Linked DNA regions of Homo sapiens: region 2 is linked to region 1. Evidence: promoter capture Hi-C in 16 types of primary human blood cells and fetal thymus (Javierre and others, 2016). All regions are on one chromosome and are shown on one strand. Each heading gives the region's core, a stretch centred on a gene start or on the middle of the fragment in contact. The rest is flanking DNA. Distances are from core to core; before and after follow the strand shown. Region 1 holds the start of SRSF4 (serine and arginine rich splicing factor 4). Region 2 holds the start of ZBTB8OS (zinc finger and BTB domain containing 8 opposite strand).

Region 1 (6,649 bases), core at 2,701-5,200:
GCCATGCCTGGCTAATTTTTTTTGTTGTTTTTTCTGCAGAGACGGGTTTTTGCCATGTTGCCCAGGCCAGATTGCTAGTTCTTAAGAATGTTATGTTCCTCACACTTACTGAATTCCAAATGAATTAAAGATTATGGCCGGGCAAGGTGGCTCACACCTGTAATCCCAGCCCTTTGGGAGGCCCAGGCGGGTGAATCACCTGGAGTTGGAAGTTCAAGACCAGCCTGACCAACGTGGAGAAACCCCATCTCTACTAAAAATACAAAATTAGCTGGGCGTGGTGGCACATGCCTGTAATCCCAGCTACTCAGGAGGCTGAGGCAGGAGAATCACTTGAAACCGGGAGGCAGAGGTTGCAGTGAGCGGGGATCGTGCCATTGCACTCCAGCCTGGGCAACGAGTTAAACTCTGTCTCTAAAATATATATACATAAATTAGCTTGGCATGGTGGCACGGGCCTGTAGTCCCAGCTACTCAGGAGGCTGAGGCAGGAGAACCGTGTGAACCCAGGAGGCACAGGTTGCAGTGAGCCAAGATCATGCCACTGTATTCCAGCCTGGGTGACAGAGCAAAACTCTGTCTCAAAAAATAAAATTGAATTAAATTTAAAAAATAAAATAATAAATAGGAGGTTGGGTGCAGTGGCTCATGCCTGTAATCTCAACACTGGGAGGTCCAGAAGGGAGGATTGCTTGAGCCCAGTTGTTTGTTTGTTTCTTTTTTGAGACAAAGTTTCGCTCTTGTTGCCCAGGCTGGAGTGCAATGGCACAATCTTGGCTCACTGCAGCCTCCGCCTCCTGGGTTCAAGCTATTCTCCTGCCTCAGCCTCCCGAGTAGCTGGGATTATAGGCGCCTGCCACCATGTCTGGCTAATTTTTTGTATTTTTAATAGAGACAGGGTTTCACTATGTTGGCCAGACTGGTCTCGAACTCCTGGCCTCAGGTGATCCACCCACCTCGGCCTCCCAAAGTGCTGGGATTACAGGTGTGAGCCACTGTGCCTGGCCTGAGCCCAGTAGTTTAAGACCAGGCAGGAAAACAACGAGACTCCATCTCTAAAAAAGTAGAATAGGCTGGGCGCTGTGGCCTGTTTTTGAGATGGAGTTTTGCTCTTGTCACCCAGGCTGGAGTGTGATGGCACGATCTCGGCTCACTGCAACCTCTGCCACCTGGGTTCAAGCAATTCTCCTGCCTCAGCCTTTTGAATAGCTGAACTACAGGCCCACACAATCACACCTGGCTAATTTTTTGTATTTTTAGTAGAGATGGGGTTTCCCCATGTTGACCAGGCTGGTCTTGAATCCCTAACCTCAGATGATCCTCCTGCCTCAACCTCCCAAAGCGCTGGGATTACAGGCGTGAACCACCGCACCCAGCCACTAATTATTACTTTCAAAATAGATTTCTTGCCGGGCGCGGTGGCTCACGCCACCTCACCTGAGGTCAGGAGTTTGAGACCAGCCTGGCCAACATGGTGAAACCCAGTCTCTATTAAAGATACAAAAAAATTAGCCAGGCGTGGTGGCACATGCCTGTAATCCCAGCTACTTGGGAGGCTGAGGCAGGAGAATTGCTTGAACCTGGAGGCAGAGACTGCAGTGAGCCAAGATAGTGCCACTACACTCCATCTTGGGCAACAGACCAAGACTCCATCTCAAAAAAAAAAAAAAAAAGCCGGGTACAGTGGCTCACGCCTGTAGTCCCAGCACTCTGGGAGGCCGAGGCAGGCAGATCACGAGGTCAGGAGATCAAGACCAGCCTGGCCAACATAGTGAAACCCCTTCTCTACTAAAATACAAAAAAATTAGCCGGGCGTGGTGGCAGGTGCCTGTAATCCCAGCTACTCTAGAGGCTGAGGAAGGAGAACGCTTGAACCCAGAAGGCGTAGGTTGCAGTGAGCTGAGATCGCACCGCTGCACTGCAGCCTGGGCGACAGTGCGAGACTCAGTCTCAAAAAAAAAAAAAAAAAGTAGAATAAATAAAAATTTAAAAATAAAATCCAGAATCAAAGAAAAATAAAGGATGGATAAATTGATCCCATAAATATCTAATGTTTTTGCATGGCTAAAAAACACTCTTGGCAAAGTCAAAAGTCAACAAATGGAAAAAATATTTGCAACTCATTTGACAAAGAGCTGATTTTCCTAATATATAGTGAGCACCTATGAATAAGAAAAATGGGTAAAGGATATACACAGACAGAAATAGGAAAATATATCTCAAACATATGAAGAAAGACTCATATCTCTGCAAAATATGATATTTGCAAATTAAACCACTTGGAGATAACATTTTTCACCTCTCAGATTGGCAAAGATCAAAAAGTTTGATAACACGGTGTTGATGAGGATATGAGGAAACAGCCACTTAAGGGGAATTGAGCAATAACTTATCAAAACTCTGACCCAAATATCCTATTTCTAGGAATAGATGATATATATAGAGAGAGAGAGAAAGAGAGAGAGAGAAATGCAAAGTTACTGCAGCAGTGTAATAACAAAAGGTTGGAACTTATTTCAATGTCCTTCACCAGGGCACTGGCTAAATAAATTACTGTGTATAAAATGGTATGAACCATAAAACTAGTCCTTTTATACTCTTAAGGAATGATTTTCAAAATATATTTTGTGTAGAACCATATGTATAGTATCCTACTATTTGTTTTATAAGGGTAAATTAACCTCCTAAAGGACATTTCAGAAACTGCCTCTGGGAAGAGAAACTAAGTGGCTGGTGGACAGCGAAGACTTTTCACTGTGTATCATTTGAACCTTGAGTTATCCTTTCAAAATATTCAAAAAACAAAAACAAGCAAAGAAACAAAACCCTTTATGGTTCTAGGTACATGGCGTTAGTGAGAAGGGAACCAATATTTATTGAGCTCTTACCATGTTTCAGACACTGTTCCAAGTACTTTCACATACACTACCCCATTTAGTGACCTGTGTAATCCTTGAGATGGGTATACATTATTCTAATTTTACAGGTTAGAAAATAGACTGGATAGGCCAGGCGCAGTGGCTCACGCCTGTAATCCCAGCACTTTGGGAGGCCAAGGCGGGCGGATCACCTGAGGTCTGGAGTTTGAGACCTGCCTGGCCAATATGGTGAAACTTCCTCTCTCCTAAAAATACAAAAATTAGCCGGGCGTGGGGGCGGGCGCCTGTAGTCCCAGCTACTCTGGAGGCTGAGGCAGGAGAATCGCTTGAACCCGGGAGGCGGAGGTTGCAGTGAGCTGAGGTCGCGCCACTGCACTCCAGCCTGGGCGACCGAGCGAAACTCGTCTCAAAAAAAAAAAAATAGGTTGGATTGTGGTCAAGTAATTTACTCGGCGTCATGCCTAGTCTAGCTCCAAAGCTCCAGCCTTCTCCGCTTCTCACACTGCTTCTATTTAAGCAGTGTCCTCTTAAAAATAATACTGGTCTCATTTATTGGGCACTTGATATGACAAAACTACTAAGTGCTTTATGTACGTATTCTCATATAATTCTCAAGACAACTCTGGAAGGTAGGAACTACTCTCCCCCTTTTACAGAAAAGATAAAGGAGGGTCCGAGACATCGCGCGTAACAAGCCCAAGGTCACGGGTACACAATCGTTTGGAAGCTAGGTTTGATTCCAAAGCTCCAGCTCCGAAATCCAAACCACACCCGGTTCAAAGGACAAAAGCACAAACGCTCGCTCGCTGGGCTCTAGGAGGTGCGGACACTTCCGGGGGAGGGGCGAAGCCAGCTGGCTGCGGAAGGCGGTGCAGGAACCCCTTTGGCGAGCTCGCGCGAGGACGTGCCGCAGCGCCGCCTGTCGATCACCTTGCCCCGCCGCACGTCGGCGCGCCCCCGGGCAAGCTCCTCCCCCAGTCCTGGCCGAGCGGGAAGCGAACGCGCGCTCTCTCCGGTTACCTTCCGCCTCGGGGAAGGGCGGGGGAAGTGGAAGCGCGCGCTCGCGAGCTGCGTGCTCGCGTACGTCGCCGGGGTTCGGCTGCGTCCGTCCCGCCGCCCGCCCGTTGCCGCCGCCGCCGCTGCCGCCGTGCTCTCGCTTTGCCCGCCGCCGCCTAAGGGGGGCTGGGGCCGGGGCCAGCCATCACTGCCGTTGCCGGGATGCCGCGGGTGTACATCGGCCGCCTGAGCTACCAGGCCCGGGAGCGCGATGTGGAGCGCTTCTTTAAGGGCTACGGGAAGATCCTGGAGGTGGATCTGAAGAACGGGTGAGGAGGGCGAAAGAGGGTCCGGCCGGGCGGGGACAGACCCCATAGGTGGTGGGGAGGCCGCGGGGACGGGAGAGGGACGCCTGGTCCGCGCGGAGCGGCTACCGGCCTGGCCAGGCTCCGCCATAGTGGCGGCGCCTCGGGGGCGCGGGTAGGCCCCGGTTCCCACTGCGCCTGCGCGGGTGGGGGTGGTGGAGGCATAATGGGAGCTGTGCTGAGGCCCTGAGTGGGACGGGGAGAAGGAAAGCCCGAGTGGGGCTGGTGCTCCGGGCAGGGGGGCACAGCTCCAGGGCGCCCGGGAGACCTGGGTTTTCCCTTCCTAGGCCCGGAACTGGGGCCCTATTCGTTTCTGGGTAGACACCAACCTTTCCCGCTCTGAGGACTACTGGAAATAAACAGGATTTCCTGCTCCCTTTCACCTCTTGCCCGGTCTCATGGATCAGACGGTCACAGCGCCGTCTTCCCCGAGGACTGGAGCCTTGGAGGGAGGCCCTTTTTAGCCGTGTGCCACGCTTTTTTGGGCGGGAGACTCCAGTTTGAGTAGTCTAGTGACAGTTTCGAAAGTATCGTCTTGCCGTGCTGAAAGCCTTCACCGTTCCCTCTGCAAGAGTAAATTAAAGTCTTAACTTCTTATCTTTAAGACTCCGTGCAGAGTTTCCACGCTGTGGTTTCCGTTTTCCAACTTACCGAAAAATTGCTTGGCCGTTGTAGAATTTGTTAGGAGAATAGTGGCCACCCTGGCTAGTATCTGCGTCTGGTTAACGCAGACGGAGACGAAATTGTTAACTTACTGCCTCCCCCAGAGTATGATCTATTACTTGTATTCTTAATCTACTTCGGCAAAAATAGTGCCAGCATGAGCTACAGGTTTTAGGGAAAACTGTTGAGGAATCAGGCCTGGAGAAAATACTCAACGGGGAAAACTGGGAACCAGATGTTAGGTAGGGCTTGGAAGGCATGGATATAAAATTAAAAGGACTGGGGTGACATTTTAGGGCACTAAACCTTGGGTGTTAGAGAACTCTTGGCTTAAAAAAGAAACTCTACTTTGCAACAGTTGTAATATAGCTACCGTTTACTCCCCAGGGTTATACTAGTAACTGACACCTGAAACATTTTGAAAGTTACCTAAGTATGTTTCACGTATGAGAAAACTGGTAGCTACCGTATTCTCAAATGATGATTTGGGTTTAAAAAGCCATTTCAAATTAATTATTAGAATCGTTTTCTTTCTGAGGACGTCTTTAGTAAAGTACTGATTTCTTTTACAGTAAAAGGCTTTAAAAACTACTCCTTTTCTACAGTAAAACGTTCAGTTCTTAAGGATATATTGAAGTGGCGGGTAGACGTTATTGTATACATACCATATATGTGAAAGTTGAAACTCCAGTTTTTTTCAGAGCCCAGCTAAATTGACAGCATAACTAACTTTTGTGGACAAAGTGTGGATTTTGAAGCCAGCCAGGCCTAAGTCAAATCCTGGTTCCACCACTTACTACGTATGGGCAAGTTACTTCTCTGAACCTGGTTGTTCATTCATGTGGAAAAGGAAGATTAGAGATAATAAATGTAAAGCATTTGGCTTAGGCAGTAAGTGGCAGCTATAATCAGAGGGATGAGGAAACATCTTTGCTTGTTGGTGTTTGATAACATAAAGCGTGTTTGGTGAGGTCTTTTCTAATGTTACTCAGGTGATAGTGTGCAGGAAATGACAAGACTGTTAATGGGAAACTGATTCATCAACCAAATGTATTGATAACCCATCAACAAAATGTCCACCACTGTGCTAAATGAATTGGGGGAGGAGGCAGAAAACAGTTCTGCTCTTGAATAAATTAAGCATTATGACATGTGCACTTTGAATTAAGAAATGTTTGCTTTCGCTTTAAACTCTAGTAAAACTTGGAATGATTTGCTTGAAAAGATGTGTTGAAATGGCTTTGAAGAATAGATTAGAGCTTGAAGTGAAGAAATTTAGGTTTCTGGGAATAGTATATGTCGTAGTTGGGGCTCAGGCATGGTGACTTGTGCCTGCAATCCCAGCTGAAGTGTGAAGATTACTTCAGGCCAGGAGTTTGAGACCAGCCTGACCCCATCTCTAAGAAAAAAATTTTTTTAATTAGCCACGCGTGGTGACACTCGCCTATAGTCCTAGCTACTTCAGAGGATGAGGCAGGAGGATCACTTCAGCCTAGGATTTCAAGGCTACAGTGAGCTATGATTGTGACACTGCACTCCAGTCTGGGTAACAGCAAGACCCCCATCTCTAATAAAATAAGTACAATGCTGACTTTTTTTGCTTTTTGATGAATAGGGAAAAAATATTTTTTTAATGTCATAATTGGTGTTGAAGACATGGTCCAGTAAGAAGCAATTATGAAAAATAATAAACAATCTAGCATGGATCAAGCCTTATGAAGAATCTAGAAATTTAACAACATAAAC
Region 2 (5,785 bases), core at 1-2,500, 3.5 Mb before region 1:
AAATCCCCACGGCAGAGGCATCCACACTCTCCACTTTCGCGGCGCCGAAACTCCTCGGGCCATCCCCGCCAAACACTCCGTTACCCGTTCCAGGCCAAGGGGCCAGCCAGGCCTTCGGAGCACGCTCGTGCGCGCCGAAACTCACAAGCCCGACGAGGAGGCCCGAGCTCCGAGCCTTGTGGGTAGGAAGCGGTGTCCCCACGCTCGGGACAGAGGCCGAGAAACCGATATCGGAGGCAGGAAGAGAAACAAACACTGGCCGGGGGCCCCACCGCTGGCTTCGCCAGCTGCGACCGAAATCGGTCCCAGGGAACTGGCGAGCCGTTAGCACGCCCCGCGGGGAGTTCCCTCTTCACGCCTTCAGTACCGGGGACTGCACTCGGCAAACTCGGGCCTGCCCTCACTGTTAGGCCATGTCGAGGCCGCGGCTCAGCCCAGGCACCCACTGCCCTCCTGGGTCGGCCCCGGCACCCTCACCTTCCTTGTCGGCCATGGCGGGCAGGCGAGCCGGGGGAATCCTGGGGTCGAGCGTTGCGGGAGGGGCGGGGAGGCTGCAAGAGCTCGCTCTGTGCGCGCGGCCTCTATTGTTTCCTGCGCCCCCAGCGCGAGGGCTGACTCGCGCACCTTCGCGCCAACATCAGCCAATGGGAGCGCTCCTAATGGCGGGATGGGCGGGGAAGCCGCGTTCGCGACCAATCCAGACGCGCGGAGTAGCTTTCCGCGGGGACCGAGGCGCGCGCTCCGCCCCTCCCCCCACGCCTCCCCGAGCCGACTTCCAGCGATTGCGCGCGCCGGCGTTGACGGGACTGCGCCCGGTCAGGGTCACGTGAGAGAGGTTTGGTCCGCACACTCCCGCGGCAAGAGGGCAGCCATTTTCTTGAAGGCTATTAAGCTTACGACCCTTTCAGAGTACTGAGATGAAAAATCTAGAATGCCTTCGGGTCTAGTTATCAATTTTGGGGGTGAAGCGGGGGAAAGAACCTCGCCAGTCAGACCCAGACGGGTTTCATTCAAGGTGCCCTTCAACGTTTTTCCTTAGTCTTTGGAAAGAACTAGTAATGAAGGAATCGCAGAAGATGGGGTTTTGGCTTTTTAAATATGCGATCCAAGCGGCAGGGTAGGGACTAAAGTAGGTCAACAGCCAACTCCGAGAAAGGAGTGTGGTCCTTTAAGGGTGTGCGCCAAGGGGCGGAGTCTAGAGCGGAAGTAGTAACTCCGGGCCGAAGTCCGGTGGATGAAGGGCGGAAGTAGAGTGTCTAATCCTGCAGTCATGGCGCAGGAAGAGGAAGATGTTAGAGATTACAATTTGACTGAAGAACAGAAGGCGATCAAGGCCAAGTATCCGCCAGTCAATAGGAAGTACGAGTGTGAGTAGGTGGCTTACTTCTCTCTTTACATGTAAGCACACAGGCATCCCCTCTCCTTACCCGCGGCTTCCTGCTGCTCTTTCTACTGTGCCCCATGGGTACTTCAGGCATGATCCCATTTGTGCCGGCTGTTGTAGTCGCGTTCGTACTTCTCCTGGGGATGCTGAAGGAAAAAGCCACCTGGTTTAATAGTCGCGAAACCTGGCCTCCCTCATTTACAGTCTCTTGAACTTCTTCCACATGTGCCTAATCACATTTATCTTCGTAAATTCTAAAGATAACCATATTTTCAGGCGTTTGCAGGGTTGTTACCCCCATGTATTTCCCAACGGTGAGATTAGAGTGTGCGAGGTTAGAGGACTCGGAAAGCTAATTAGGGGATTTCTAACTTGATGTTTCACCTCGATCATATTAGCAAAAAACCTGGTTTTGCCATTTATGATTGTGATTTTTAAAAATGATTATTTTAGGCCGGGCTCGGTGGCTGAGGCCTGTGATCCCAGCACTTTGGGAGGCCGAGGCGGGCGGATCACCTGAGGTCGGAAGTTCGAGATCAGCCTGACCAACATGGAAAAACCCCGTCTCTACTAAAAATACAAAATTAGCTGGGCGTGGTGGAGCATGTCTGTAATCCCAGCTACTCGGGAGACTGAGGCAGGAGAATCGCTTGAACCCGGGAGGCGGAGGTTGCGGTGAGCCGAGATCGCCCCATTGCACTCCAGCCTGGGCAACGAGCGAAACTCTGTCTCAAAAAAAAAAAAAAATGTGTGTGTGTGTGTGTGTGTGTGTGTGTGTGTGTTTTTAGAGATGGGGTCTCGCTCTGTCGTCCAGGCTGGAGTGCAATGGAGCGATCATAGCCCGCGCTGCAGTGCCCAGCTGGTTTTGCCATTTATTCGCTTAGTGACTTTAGGCAAATCACATAACCTATCTTTGTCTCTTAAATTCTATATTAAACGTTAAGCTGTCATCCCTAAAGGTAGCTGTGGTTTGGGGAGCACAAATCTGACTTTTATTTATCTGCTTAAAATCTTTCATTAATTTCTCATTGTCCTCTCTGTAAAATCTACTTATTTACCATAGTATTCTAGGCAATGTGCTTTCTGGAGCTGGCATACCTCCTAGCATATCCCCTTCTCTCACTTAAAAACAATTTTAAAATATTATAGGCCGTTTGCGGTGGCTCACACTTATAATCCCAGCACTTTGCGAGACTGACGTGGGTGGATCACCTGAGGTCAGGAGTTCCAGACCAGCCTGGCCAACATGGTGAAACCCCGTCTCTACTAAAAATACAAAAATTAGCTGCGCATGATGGTGGGCGCCTGTAATCCCAGCTACTCGGGAGGCTGAGGCAGGAGAATTGCTTGAACCCAGGAGGGTGGAGGCTGCAGTGAGCCGAGATCACACCACTGCACTCCAGCCTGGGCAACAGAGTGAGACTGTCTCAAAAAAAAAAAAAAAAAAAAAAAGGCCTGGTGCTGTGGCTCACGCCTGTAATCCCAGCACTTTGGGAGGTTGAGGCGGGTGGATCACCTGAGGTCAGGAGCTTGAGATCAGCCTGGCCTGGCCAACATGGTGAAACCCCATCTCTACTAAAAATACAAAAATTAGCTAGGCATGGTGGTGGGTGCCTGTAATCCCAGCTGCTTGGGCGGCTGAGGCAGGAGAATCGCTTGAACCTGGGAGGCGGAGGTTGCAGTGAGCCGAGATTGCACCACTGCACTCCAGCCTGGGCGACAGAGCCAGACTCCATCTCAAAAAAAAATTATTTTTAATAGGTCATATATATTGATTTGAAATTCAGAAAGTGTAACATAGGCAGTGAAAAGTAACTCTGGCAGCCCCCATCCTCAACTACCTAGTCCCCCTCTGTAGAGCAGTCATCGTTACCTTTTTCTTACATGTACATACCTAGATGTTCTAGCATTTGCTTTAACCAATTTTCAGTTGATGGACGTTTAGGCTATTTCTACTCTTGTGGTATTAGAAACAGTGCAGCAGTGAATACACTTGTACATCCACTGTTTTGTACATGTGCAAGTGAATCTGTAGAATCAAGTTCTCCAAGTTTTTTTTGTTTCCATTGCTAAGACTCCTACATTTTTTAAAAGGATATTTTAACTTGGACAGTTATTGCCAAATTGCTCTCTATAGGAGTTGTACCAATTTATACTTTCACTAGTATTGTGTGAATGTGCCTCTTTCCTCCCACTTCTACTAATTGTTACCATACTTTTTTATCTTTTCTAATTTGTAAAGTATACTTACTGTATTTTTCTTATTGTAAGTGAAGTTGAACATATTATACTGTTTTGGAAGCTATTTGTATTTCCCATTCTGGGGTGTGTATGTTAATATTCTTAGCCCTTTTTTCTCTTGGGTTATTTTTTTTTTGTCTTGGGTTGTTGGTTTTTCTTACTAGGCAGAAAGTGTTTTTATGCAATGCAGTTCATTAACCAGCGGTCCCCAACCTTTTTGGCACTAGGGACTGGTTTCACGGAAGTCAGTTTTTCCACCAACGGGGGTTGTAGGGGAGGATGGTTTCAGGATGATTCAAGCGCATTACATTTATTGTGCATTTTATTTCTATTATTATTACGTTGTAATATATAATGAAATAATTATACAACTCACTGTAATATAGAATCAGTGGGAGCCCTGAACTTGTTTTCTTGTAACTAGATGGTCCCATCTGGGGATGACAGATCATCAGGCTTTAGATTCTCATAAGGAGCACACAGCCTAGATCCCTCAATGTGCAGTTCACAATAGTGTTCAAGCTCCTATGAGAATCTAATGCTGTGCCTGATCTGAAAGGAAGTGGAGCTCAGGCAGTAATGTTAGCAATGGGGAGCTGTTGTAAATATAGAAGAAGCTTTGTGAGCTCATGTCCTGCTGTGCTGCCTGGTTCCTAACAGGCCACCAACTGGTACTGGCCAGGGGGTTGGGGACCCCCTGCATTGACCCTTTCTTTCTTTTCTTTTTTTTTTTTTTTTGAGACAGAGTCTCGCTTTGTCATCCAGGTTGGAGTACAGTGGCATGATCTCCAGTCACTGCAACCTCTGCCCCCCAGGTTCAAGTAATTCTTCTGCCTCAGCCTCCTGAGTAGCTGGGACTACAGACATGCACCACCACACCTGGCTAATTTTTTTTTTTTTTTTTTTTTGAGACAGAGTAGCTGGGATTACAGGTATGCACCACCGTGCCTGGCTAATTTTGTATTTTTAGTAGAGATGGGGTTTCTCCATGTTGGTCAGGGTGGTCTCGAACTTCCAATCTCGAACTTCCAATCTCAGGTGATCCGCCCGCCTCGGCCTCCGAAGTGCTGGGATTACAGGCGTAAGCCACCACGCCTGGCATTTTTTTTTTTTTTTTTTTTTTTTTTTTTTTTGAGACAGTATCTTGCTCTGTCTCCCAGGCTGGAGTGCAGTGGCACCATCTCAGCTCACAGCAACCTCCGCCTCCTGGGTTCAAGTGATTCTCTTGCCTCAGCCTTCCGTATGGCTGGGATTACAGGTGCCCACCACCACACCCGGCTAATTTTTGTGTTTTTTTTTTAGTAGAGACAGGGTTTCACCATGCTGGCCAGGATGGTCTTGAACTCCTGACCTCAAGTGATCCGCCCACCTGAGCCTCCCAAAGTGCTGGGGTTACAGGCATGAGCCACCACTCCCGGCCAACCCTTTTTTTTATGGCTTCTAAGATAAGAAGTCATACTCAGGGAATGCCTTGTCCACTGAGATTTTAAAATAATTTTCCTAATTTTTTTTTTATACATTTGAAAATAGAACTTTTGGCCGGCGGATCACGAGGTCAGGAGATTGAGGCCATCCTGGCTAACATGGTGAAACCCTGTCTCTACTAAAAATACAAAAAAATTAGCCGGGCGAGGTGGCGGGCGCCTGTAGTCCCAGCTACTCGGGAGGCTGAGGCAGGAGAATGGCGTGAACCCGGGAGGCGGAGCTTGCAGTGAGCCGAGATTGCACCACTGCACTCCAGCCTGGGCAACAGAGTGAGACTCTTTCTCAAAAAAAAATAATAATAAAATAAAAAACTTTAATTGAATAACCTGGAATTAGATACCAAGAAAAAAAAATCTTTTTTTTTTTCCCTGAGACAGTCTCATTCTGTCACCCAAGCTGGAGTAGTGCAGTGGTGCGACTTTGACTCACTACAACCTCTGCCTCCTGGACTCAAGTGATCCTCCAACCTCAGCCTCTTGAGTAGCTGGGATTACAGGCGTGCACCATCATACCCAGCTAATTTTTCATTTTTAGTAGTGATGGAGTTTCACCATGTTGGCCAGGCTGGTCTCGAATTCCTGACCTCAGATGATCTGTCTGCCTTGGCCTGCCAAAGTGCTGGGAGTACAGACGTGAGGCACTGCACCCAGCCAAAATACATCTTTTATTGAAGTA

The links. The method cuts DNA at HindIII sites, captures the fragments that hold promoters and counts their contacts. A CHiCAGO score of 5 or more calls a contact.
Region 2: the fragment with the promoter of ZBTB8OS here is called in contact with the fragment with the promoter of SRSF4 in region 1 in 2 of 17 cell types (non-activated CD4 T cells and total CD8 T cells); the score reaches 5.4 in non-activated CD4 T cells.

What each region holds. Positions count from the first base shown.
Region 1 is chr1:29,179,201-29,185,849 of GRCh38, reverse strand. It overlaps SRSF4 (serine and arginine rich splicing factor 4), which reads left to right and starts at 3,950. Exons shown (of 6, transcript NM_005626.5): 1 at 3,950-4,204. The coding sequence starts at 4,098. It also overlaps a transcript of MECR not described here. RefSeq lists enhancers at 2,622-3,259, 3,602-3,831, 3,260-3,897 and silencers at 3,902-4,111, 4,162-4,351. The HindIII fragment of the contact is 7,304 bases long and covers 1-6,649 here.
Region 2 is chr1:32,646,015-32,651,799 of GRCh38, reverse strand. It overlaps ZBTB8OS (zinc finger and BTB domain containing 8 opposite strand), which reads left to right and starts at 1,250. Exons shown (of 7, transcript NM_178547.5): 1 at 1,250-1,367. The coding sequence starts at 1,271. It overlaps RBBP4 (RB binding protein 4, chromatin remodeling factor), which reads right to left and starts at 592. Exons shown (of 12, transcript NM_005610.3): 1 at 478-592. The coding sequence starts at 493. RefSeq lists enhancers at 1-43, 204-792, 793-1,380, 2,514-2,653 and silencers at 344-913, 4,170-4,239. The HindIII fragment of the contact is 3,350 bases long and covers 895-4,244 here.